Regions from separate parts of the Homo sapiens genome. Here region 2 is linked to region 1. Evidence: promoter capture Hi-C in human tissues and cell types (Jung and others, 2019). All regions are on one chromosome and are shown on one strand. The core of a region is centred on a gene start or on the middle of the fragment in contact, and the rest is flanking DNA. Distances in the headings are between cores, read along the strand shown. Region 1 holds the start of OR51F1 (olfactory receptor family 51 subfamily F member 1). Region 2 overlaps MMP26 (matrix metallopeptidase 26).

Region 1 (5,399 bases), core at 997-3,496:
TAATGCATAGTTAGATATGCAAAAATAGGCTCTTGCAAGCTGGTGTGTGCTCTCTCCAGCACACTGCTGCCCTCAGTATTTGTGGGGTACCTGGTACATTTCTTCCACCTATCACTATTTTTCCAATGGCAATAAAATTGATGTGACTGCCTTTAGGTTTCCATCTCCATTTCCCTCTGATTTTATTCTGCCATTATATGCAATTGACATTTTTAAGCTTCTGTCTGTCTCTTAAATCCAAAGAGTTACCATAAGTTCGTTTTCAGAAACCAAACATTTTGTGTCTGTCTCTGTAAAACTGTGTATAGGCAAGAACTATGAATTCTTTACCTTGGTTCTTTAGCTGGTTAAGGAGTCACATAGGTCTTTAATGGCATTTGTGAAAACTGTGAAAACTATGGAAAATAATGTGAGTATGTTTATCTATGGGGAAAGGTCCATAAATTTCATTAGCTTTCTAAGGGACCACAATGCAGAAAAAGGTTCAGAACATCTGCCCCAAACTTCCTTGTAATTTACTTTACATTCTTTTCTAGTTCTCTCAAGTTCCCATTCCCTGTGATAAATTAGCAAGTGTGCCTCACCCCTAAAGCTTTTCTTTGGACTGTCCAACACTGGATAGTGACTCACATGCCATGACATATCTATTCCTACCTTTTGTATTATGAATTATCCATGAAGAAAACAGCTAGAGTATATTCTAAGAAGGTTACTACAACTTTTTAAGACAAAGGATGGAACCATGGAGATCCAGGTCTTACTTTTGATCTTAAAACATTTCTGCTACATGACTTTGGCAGAGTATGTAATACAGTGATGAAGAGCATAGCATTTGAGATACAGAACACCTGGGTTCAAATCTCAACTGTGCCTCATGTTATTCACATGGCCTTTGGGGGCCTAAATGTCTATAAATCTGTTCCATCATCTGTAATATATCGCTAATAGTAATATATATTTCATTTCGCTGTTTTGGAAGAATAAATGGAATATGTCTTAAAAGCAGTTAGTAGAACACCTAGCCTGAAACAAAGAGTCAATACATGTTAATTGCCAGGAGTATTATTTATCATTTCATTATTGTTATTTTCCTAATTCCACTACAAATGTCTTGGGTGATATATCATACTTATATTTTATGACCAAATATACAACATATTTACTATTTGTTTGGTGAATGAAAAATATTTTAAAAACCCACATGCAATAGGCAGTAAGAGAGCAAGTTCGCTTTTCTACAGTGCAAGTCATTCATGCCAGGTTTGTATCAAATAAAACTATGTCTGTTCATTTTGTAAGCAGCAGACTGAGCATAGCCTTGCGGATTTGTTTTGTTTTTACACTGTCGATGATGGGGTTGAGCACAGGGGGTAAAAGCAGGTATACATTAGCCATCACTGAATGGACTACTCTGGGGGCTGACCGACCATAGCGATACACCAAGGACAGGCTCAGCATGTGGATGTAGAAGAAAGCAACTGCTCCCACATGGGAGACACAGGTGCTGAAGACCTTGTGCCATTCTTCAGGGGAGGCAATTCTGAGGACAGAGTGAATAATTAAGATATATGACAGGACAATGCATGGTGTATCTATTCCAGTGGTCAGGATGAGATCAATTAATCCACAGATGCTATTTGCCCGAATGTCTGAACATGCTAATTGAATCACATCTGGATGGTAACAATAGGAGTGAGAAAGGGCATTCATTCTACAGAAATAGAGAGGCTTAAGGAGCAAAAGTAGTGGCAATATTAGTACTATAGCACGTGTAATCATCAGAAGACCCATTTGAATGATTCTGGAATTAGTGAGAATGGTAGTGTACCTCAGAGGGTCACAGATGGCCACATAACGGTCAAAGGCTGTAGCCACCAGCACTCCAGATTCCATAAAAGTGAATCCATGAAGAAAAAACATCTGGACAATGCAGCTATATAGACTGATTTCACGTGCCTCAAACCAGAGGATACCTAATGTTGTTGACAATGAAGAAACAGTCAAGCCCAGATCAGTGGCTGATAGCCTGAAGAGGAAATAATACATGGGTTCATGGAGACTCTGCTGGGTAATGATGACAAACAGGATCACGCTGTTCCCAGAGAGGGCAATGGCATAAAAACAACAGAAAGGAATGGAGATCCAGACATGGGCAGACTCTAGGCCAGGAATGCCGGTCAACAAGAAGGTTGGAAATTTAGATGTTGAGTTGCTTAGGATTTCCATGGTGTCCTGGTTTTGCAGCATTTGTCCTCACAATGCTTCCATCCTATAGAAGTGATACATTAAGTGTTATGTAAAATATTTAGATACATTTTCTTTTAGTTAGTAGAGTTATCCAAGGTCATAGATAAGATCTGCATCATTGAGAAACCTTTAAATTAAATTATAATGTTCATCTACCACTCATAATCAGAAATAGTTCACAAAAATATGTTTTTGTACCATAAAATTCAAGGGAAATATGTCCATATGATTTTATACATTTTCATGATAGTGTCCATTTACAGAATATATTAAGATGCATCATATTGTAAGATTATTTGAATAAAGACTTAGCTGAGAAAAAATAAGTATCCTCAATTTTGAATATTTTGTGAGTACAATGAATAATAGCCACTTAAAAATATCCATGGTTCTTCAGTGACCATAAGGGTATGAGTCTGCAGACACAGATCTCCAGATATTTGCCAGGAATATAAAGTTATCAATGTATATTTATCATTTTCATCCAACACTATAGGTAAACAACTTCAGAGACTAGAATTATAAGAGAAAAACAATGAGGACAGAACTCTCCAGAAGACTGGAATGCACTATATACACTAAAGCAAGATGAGACTGGTTTTATGGGGACTATGAAAACCAAAAGAGGCTGGGCAGGTGGCTCATGCCTGTAATCCCAGCACTTTGGAGGCAGAGGTGGGCGGATCACGAGGTCAAGAGATCAAGATCATCCTGGCCAACATGGTGAAACCCCGTCTCTACTAAAAATACAAAAATTAGCTGGGCATGGTGGCGTGTATCTGTAGTCCCAGCTACTTGGGAGGCTGAGGCAGGAGAATCGCTTGAACCCAGGAGGCAGAGGTTGCAGTGAGCCAAGATTGCACCACCGCACTCCAGCCTGGTGACAGTGAGAGACTCCGTCTAAAAAAGAAGAAAAAAAAAAAACATGGTGTGAAGACCGGATGTTACATGAGCAGCTGTGTCGAATTGCTTGCGCTGTGAAGCCTAGTAAGGATTAAAAAATTCAAATGCAGCTGAGAGCCATTAGCGATCCCAGAAAAAACAGTGGAAAATTGAGAACCTGCTACAGTGTGGTAATGATGAAAGTATTAGCAGTGGAGGTACGGTTTATTTTAAGAAACTTGGCAGTGAAGGCAAGGGGAGAAGTAGGCCATGTCTAAAGAAGGGGTATCAGGTAGATGGAGAATTTTTGCAAGATGGGACAGAATTCGAGAAATTGATATGTTTATAAACGGAGGTTAAAAATGTAGCAGATAATGAGAAATTTAAAATATAGAATGTGAAGGATTTATTGATCTATAAAAGTCCTTAAGAAAGTAGTGGGTGATTAAGTGTAGAGCATGAGTAACCTTCAAAAAAATGAGGACCATCATTTGCACTGACACTAGTAAGTGTCAAATATGTAAGTTTGTGGAGAGTTATATAAGGAAATTGTTACCTTTTTCTCTGTGAAGTATTTGGGGGTAATTTACTGCTGTTCAAAAGTGTAAAGTGATGGCTGCTGGCTTCCGGATACAGTAGACGTTTTCAGGAGACAGCGAATGAGAAGGGCAATTGGCTCAGTAAACAGAAATGCTATATCGCCTCTTTCAAGTAAAATTCCAAGAATAATTTTGTCAATTAATATATTTATATTGTTCAAATCAATTCTGGGGAGAATTAAATTAAATAATAGCAGTATTCATGAGTATAATGTTAGTATTTTTCAATCAAGTCTTTAAAAAATTAGATGTGTCAAATTCATGAGAGTAAATATTCTGTAGCAAGGATACAAGTTACTGTTCCCTTTATGCTAGTATTCTGTGGTTTATTTTAAATCTCCAGTTGTCTGATTTTCAATTCAATCTGAGAAACATTATGAAAATATTTAAGTATGAATTATTAGAGGTTGTATATCTACATGTTATGTGGATCGATGAGGACAGGGCAAACCCTCATGATATCTGACTTTTCTATAAACCCATATGACTATTTGTGAATAGGTAACAAAGTAAAAGTCAACACGATAAATATATCTATCTCCCTTCTTACCAGCTTTACGTGGAAAGAGGAACCTTCTCTGTCTTTGCTAGATGAGGAAGGATAGACTACAGTTCTGGAGCCATGGACTTTATAGTAAGGTAGAATTGAGCTGTGAGATTATTTGTATGATTTATGTCTCTCTGCAGCCAAAGACAGAGCAAAAAAGAAACCACCCTCTCTCCCTATCTATAAAAATTAGAGGGCAGGAGTGTGTAATCCCAGAGGGTTTTAGTTACTAATCCAAGTAACCTGTGGTCCACAGGGACATTAAATGCAGAGGAAAATAAACCAAATTATGCATATAAATAGAAAATTTACACACTGTTCATAGCATTGGGGAATAGAGAGATGTACATCATTGTCTCTGGATTATAAGTGTACTGGCAAGATAGGAAAAGAAACCACTGTTCACTGGGATCATTATGGTCACAATAAAGAGGGAAAACTTTACACCCAGTCTCTAGGCTCCTATGCCTACATTTCCACATTGAACCATAGGGAGAATGATAGATGTCCATTCTCAAATCCATTCTTTTTCAAACACTGAGTTTTCCCCCAGTAAATGTGTCAGCTCCTGATATATTAATTTGGCCCTGTTTTGCTAGTAGCTAGGGTTACCATGAATGAATGATGTTCTCATGTGCATGTATTCTTACTCTGTTCCCTGCTGTTTTCTTGCATTAATACTTTCAAGCACCTGATTATTGAGAGAGTTTTTTCATTTTTGTCAGTGTAGGCAGTTGACTAATGGATGCAGACACTTTACAGTCTACTAATTCTAGGTTCATAAGAAAAGTCTCACATTCAAGCCTTTTGTTTCTCCTTTATAGAGAAGCTGCACATTTGTGGAGACAGTCTTGTTTTTGTTTAGGTATCAATAATACCAGTAATTTGTTCCTCACTCAGCTATTTTTCTTTGATTTCTACTCTGCTATTACTCCTGTGCATTCCTGTTCAAGTAATTTTAATGGCTGAAAGTGTGATGGGTTCAATTGAAGCACTATATCTCTACCCGGCATTCCCATCAACTGTTTTGACTAATACTTCCACGACAAAAATGAACTATAATCAAATCATTTTATAAGTCAGAAATAAATAATTAAAAGTTTCGCCTCTGTTGTCTTAAAGAG
Region 2 (5,480 bases), core at 629-3,128, 55 kb before region 1:
TTAATAATGTAATTTATGAAGTGTCAATTACAGATAATCTTGTATAGTATAGTTATACGTACCTTAATAAAATCCACTTTGAAGTATATTTATTTTCTCTCTTTATAAAGTAATACTTTATATTTTTTCTTATTTCTAAGTTTTTTTTTCTTTTAATCTTACAGCTTATATCTCTTATTTTTCCCTACTATCTATGTTACACTCTGAATTCAACAACATCCAATACTATGGTCTATACATTTTGCTTTTATTTATAGTCCATCTGAAACAATGGTTGTTTAAAACTGTGAGAACTAATGCTGAAAATAGTAGTCTGGTTAATCTGAAGTAGACTTTGAAAGAGTAGGCGATAGGGTGTTGAGGTTCTGTTTGAGAATGTCTTCTAAATTGACATTTCTATAAACGGATATATCAGAGTTTAGGGGGAAAATGTGATGTTTGTACCATTCAGGTTGATATTGAAACCAAGCAGAAAACTGCAATATATTAGGGATTCTCAAATTAGGTGCCTGACTTCCTCAGCTGCTTCACGTGGAGCTGTAAAAATGCATTTTTCTAGGGAAGAGGAAAGACTAAGTTCCATGCTGTGTTATTTGTATTATGTTATTTAGATTCAAATGACTTAGGATGCATAAAAGATCTTCATGCCTAACATAGATCCTGTCTCCCTATTTAGCTTCATCTCTCCCCCACACTGGCACCCAGGGTTCCAAGTGAGCTGAGTCTGTTATTAGTCACCTTCTGTTCTTCCTACACTCTGTGCTCCATTGTCTCCTGACAGACCTGGTTCTGAGTTTCCTTCAGGATAAACACAACTCTTCTGTACTGTCATCGTAAATATCCCTCATTGTAAACACTGAGTTTTATGTCTGTTTCCACAGGTGGTTCCCTCCAAGGAGCTCTGGAGGGAAAAGACTCTGTTTTATTCTCTGTATTACCAGTACAAAGTCCTAGAATATGAAAGATACTTCAAATGTTCCATGAAAGAATAAATGAAGATTTTTGGGGGGCATAGAGTGAAGCACAAGCAGAGGGGTTTCTAAAAATATATAAAATTCACCTAAATAATATAGGAGGAAGATAAGTTTATCAGTTGGGTGTGGGAGTGGTGTGAAGATGAGGGGCGATCTGGTGGGTTTTTTTGGGAGGGTGTGGTTACTCACAAATTTACTTTTAAGAAAATTTTAACAACACATAAGATCAAAGACCTGTAACAGCAGTCCCTTCATGGAAACTATAAAAGAACATGAAGTAGAAGGAGAAGAAAGCCATGAAGTAGAATGAGCCCTTGGGAAGCTTCATACTCTGGGGGCTGCAGAAATCACCACCAGGAGCTTATTAAGAGCTTTCAGGCATCCTGAGATATGGCTTCAGATATATGCTACTTATTTCTGGGTAGAATACATCCCCAGCTCCTCAGGCTCCTTTCTGGAAAACAGGCAGGAAAGAACACATCCTTATACTTTGTAAGTAAAACTGCTGCATTTACGAAAAACATTACACTTTACACGCCCTGGTTTCTTTTAAGAATGAGGGGGACTTTATTAGCTGCAGAAAGCTCTTGTGGGTGCCTAAGGAAAATTGTGGAAATCTATTTTCTGAAATCTGTATTTTCTAGGAACATTCTATTCTGAGGAGGTTTGATTGGTCTATGAGCCATTTGTTTTGCTGCTTAGAGCAGGTTGTTAATGTGTCCATGCAATTTTAAGTTTCCTGGTTAGTTGTGTCACATTTTATAACTGCCACTGAAGGTCCTAAAGTCAACAGCCACTACCACCGTCACACACACTGCCACTGCCATTCTTATCCTCATCCTCATCTTCATTTACCAATATCACGTGACTTCCACGTCCCACACACTGGTCAGCATATTATATGCTTTGCAATGTTATCTTGTTTAATCCTTACAAAGTAGTGCCATTGGTGAACTACCAGTTTCACCTTAGTGGAATCTGATGTAAAGTGCTTATTTGGAGAACTCCGGCTAGCTCTAGGTGGCAGAGACCAAATTTGAACCTAGGTTTGTATGACGGTATAACAATATCACTTACTCTGTAATCAGAGAAGAGAGATAAGTCAAGGTAGCCCAGGAAATAACTTGAAACACATTCTTACAATGGGCCTGGAGTGTTATCTTGGTATAATAGGAAGATAATTACTGTCAACAAATGGGAGGGCACATAAAAGTTAACCCTCCAATACTAGGACAGAGTCTTCCATCAGTAAAACCCCAAATCTCTCTCTCTCTCTCTCTCTCACACACACACACACACACACACACACACACACACACATTACTCAGTTTGTGAGAACACTGGAGAGCTCTGTGCGATTCTTCCAGAAGCCACATATATAATTTTAGGCAACACAGCATGTTTTAAATAGACAAAATTGAATGTGTTGAGGTCCTGAGATGTGTTCAGAATCTTGGTCAGTTAACAACTCTTGGATTGAATTCACATCAACATGTATATATTGTATGCCCATACTTCTCAAAATATATTTCAAGGTATTGGGAATATAACGATGAAAAAACAATGAACTACCTTCCAGTAACTTAATTTTGTTAGAGAGGTGTATTTGATCGTACAATGGAATAAACACTATTTTAGATGCATAAATATAAAAGAATATCGTTTCATCAAGCTGTTATCAAATAAAGTCTTTTTTTCCTGTAAAAAAAAAAAAAAGAATATAACTCCAGAGGAAGAAGTAAGTTCTTCTGACTTGACTTAGAGTAGGTGATGCCACCAAATGCTTCCTGAAATAAATTCATGTTTAATTTATACGTAGTTCGGTGGATCAAATAGTGGATCTAAAATTTTTTGTCTTATTCAAAAAAGAGAGAACTACATGAATTAAGCAAGCACATTAGTGTGAAAGAACTTGCTATATTTGGTAGTTTGGTGAAGTAGGGAAAAGCCCAGGTGGAGTATATAAAAAGATTTCTGAGGGTAGGGAGGAAGGTCACTAATAAAACTGGAAGATAAATATGGTCAATCAAGAGACATTTCAGAAGTTGAACCTATAAAGATTTGGAGACTGGATAGCCATGACAGATGGGGTTGGTAGAATTCTAAAAGGGCTCTAAAGATTTCTGCCCATCCTGGTGTACTTGTCCTGAGCAATACCCATGCCTTGGGTGTGTGAGTGGGGCCTGTGAATGTGATGGGATATCACTCCCATGATTACGTTACATTATATGGCAAAAGGATTTAACAGATGTAACTAAGGTCCCTGATTACTTGACTTTGAGTTAATCAAAAGGAAGACTATCCTGCTAGGGCTTACCTAATCACGGAAGTCTTTAAAAGAGAGAAGAATCTCGAAGGAGGTTCTACTGCTGGATTTGAAGACCTAAGATGTCATATTGTGAGAAGAACACATGACTGGGACTGAGGGTAGCCTCTAGAAGCTAAAAGCCCAGCAAGAAATTGGAGACCTCAACCATATACCACAAGGAACTAAATTCCTACGGCAATCTGAGTGAGGATTGTAATTAAGAACAATCTCCAATTGTTCCTCTCCAATTAAGAACATGGTACTGGCTGGAATTTTAATTTCAACCGTGCGAGATCCTGAGTAGTGCACCTACTTTTGCTGTGCTCAGACATCTGCCTTACTGAACTGTGAGGTAATATATGTGTCTTGTTTAAAGTCACTGAATTTTTAGTAATTTCTTATGCAGCTATAGACAACTAATGCAACAAAGAATGTTTTGATCAAAAACAGAACCAGATTTCAAATATAGGTATGAATCATGAGGGAGGGAAATGAGGATAGACAAATCATTTTATGAGTTGTTGGTGTAGGAAAGGAGATACACACAGCAGGGATGCAGGCTAAGAAGAACGTTGTTCTTGTTGTTTTTAATTATATTTAGATTGAGGGATAAATTGCATGTTTATATAGATTGTATGAATAGAAAAAATCTCTTATGCTTTTGAAGCAAAGAAGATAATTCCATACTTGATCTCTCTTACCTCTTTTTTTTTTTTTTTTTTTTTTTTTTTTGAGATGGAGTTTCGCTCTTGTTGCCCAGCCTGGAGTGCAATGGTGCGATCTCAGCTCATTGCAACCTCCACTTCCCAGGTTCAAGCGATTCTCCTGCCTCAGCCTCCTAAGTAGCTGGGATTACACGTGTGTGCCAACATGCCTGGCTAATGTTTTGTATTTTTAGTAGAGATGGGGTCTCACCATTTTGGCCAGGCTGGTCTCAAACTCCTGACCTCAGTTGATCACCTGCCTCGGCCTCCCAAAGTGCTGGGATTACAGGCATGAGCCACCGTTCCCAGCCCTTTCTTACCTCTTAAACACTACCTTTTGGTACGTTTTATCTCACACTTTAGTGGCATTTCTAAAATATCTGAAACCCCATTGCCTTTGAATATGCTTAGAATTTCTTTCATGATGATTTTCACTTATCAGCCTCTGCTCGACAATTCTTTACTTACTCAGAGAAGCCGTTTGACTCCATCCCCTCCAACTTTCTAATATAGATACCTCTGTATTTTAAATACAGTCTTATTATTTGTTTGTTTGCACATTTGTTTTCTGAACTATCCTATTATTTCCTTATGATCCTCAGGGCAGGTGCAATACTTGACTTGGCTCTGTATCTCAACAGTCTGGATTGCGGCTTGCACTCAGTAATGTTTGATGTTAAACAAAGCTAACATCCAAGATAGATTGAGACTAGGTAATGGGGGTTGTCTGGAAAGGAGTAAGAGCTCTTCTTTTTAACTTGGAAAGATGAAGAAAGGATGAGAAAAACATAGTTGTAGCGGAAGAAGAGATGAAATGAGAAAGAGATATTAACCAGTGGATATTACCTAAATTAGATTTAGAATATTTCCATGTTGTTTTTTTTTTTTCTCAGCTACCAGATAAAGAGACAAGTAGATACATGATGGTGGGGGTTGGGGATAGATTTTGGAAAACAATGTGTGTACACTTTTTTAACTTTAATTTTTCTCTTTAATGATAATAACTAACATTTGGTAAGTTTTTTACCACAGTGAGATGCTCTGCTGAGATTTTCACATACGTTAATCTTCACAACAGTCCTGTGGATATGCATACCATTGTTACTTTAGAGATGGGGAAAATGAGGCACATACAGTTTAGTAACTCATCATGTGGTAACCCAGCTGGTAAATGTCAAGAGTATTTTAACCCAGTTAAAATTTATAACATGCAGCTGTAAAAAACGTTGACTTGGGATGCAGGATAAAAATTCATAACATTAAACTATCCATAATACTTTCATACTGGAGGCCCCATATATTCTAATTCTGGCTTATACATAAGTATATGTTTTTATATCTAACTCACACTCGCTATGTGGTATGAAAATTTCTTAGGGACAGTTTAAATTTTAATATCACGAATAGACTGTATGCTTGTCCAGGGTATTATCACACTGCAGATAGTAGGGGATCAACAAATGTTGGCTATTTATTAGACATATTGGATCTGAT

What was found. The method cuts DNA at HindIII sites, captures the fragments that hold promoters and counts their contacts. A contact is called where the count stands out against the background at its distance.
Region 2: a contact is called between a fragment that was not itself captured here and the fragment with the promoter of OR51F1 in region 1, in 1 of the 25 tissues and cell types used here (aorta).

What each region holds. Positions count from the first base shown.
Region 1 is chr11:4,767,692-4,773,090 of GRCh38, forward strand. It overlaps OR51F1 (olfactory receptor family 51 subfamily F member 1), which reads right to left and starts at 2,247. Exons shown (of 1, transcript NM_001004752.2): 1 at 1,288-2,247. The coding sequence starts at 2,247. The coding sequence ends at 1,288. All of the region lies in intron 2 of MMP26 (matrix metallopeptidase 26), which reads left to right. The HindIII fragment of the contact is 7,923 bases long and covers 405-5,399 here.
Region 2 is chr11:4,712,665-4,718,144 of GRCh38, forward strand. All of the region lies in intron 1 of MMP26 (matrix metallopeptidase 26), which reads left to right. Among named protein-coding and RNA genes, the nearest start is that of MMP26, 11 kb to the left of the region's middle. The HindIII fragment of the contact is 6,949 bases long and covers 1-5,353 here.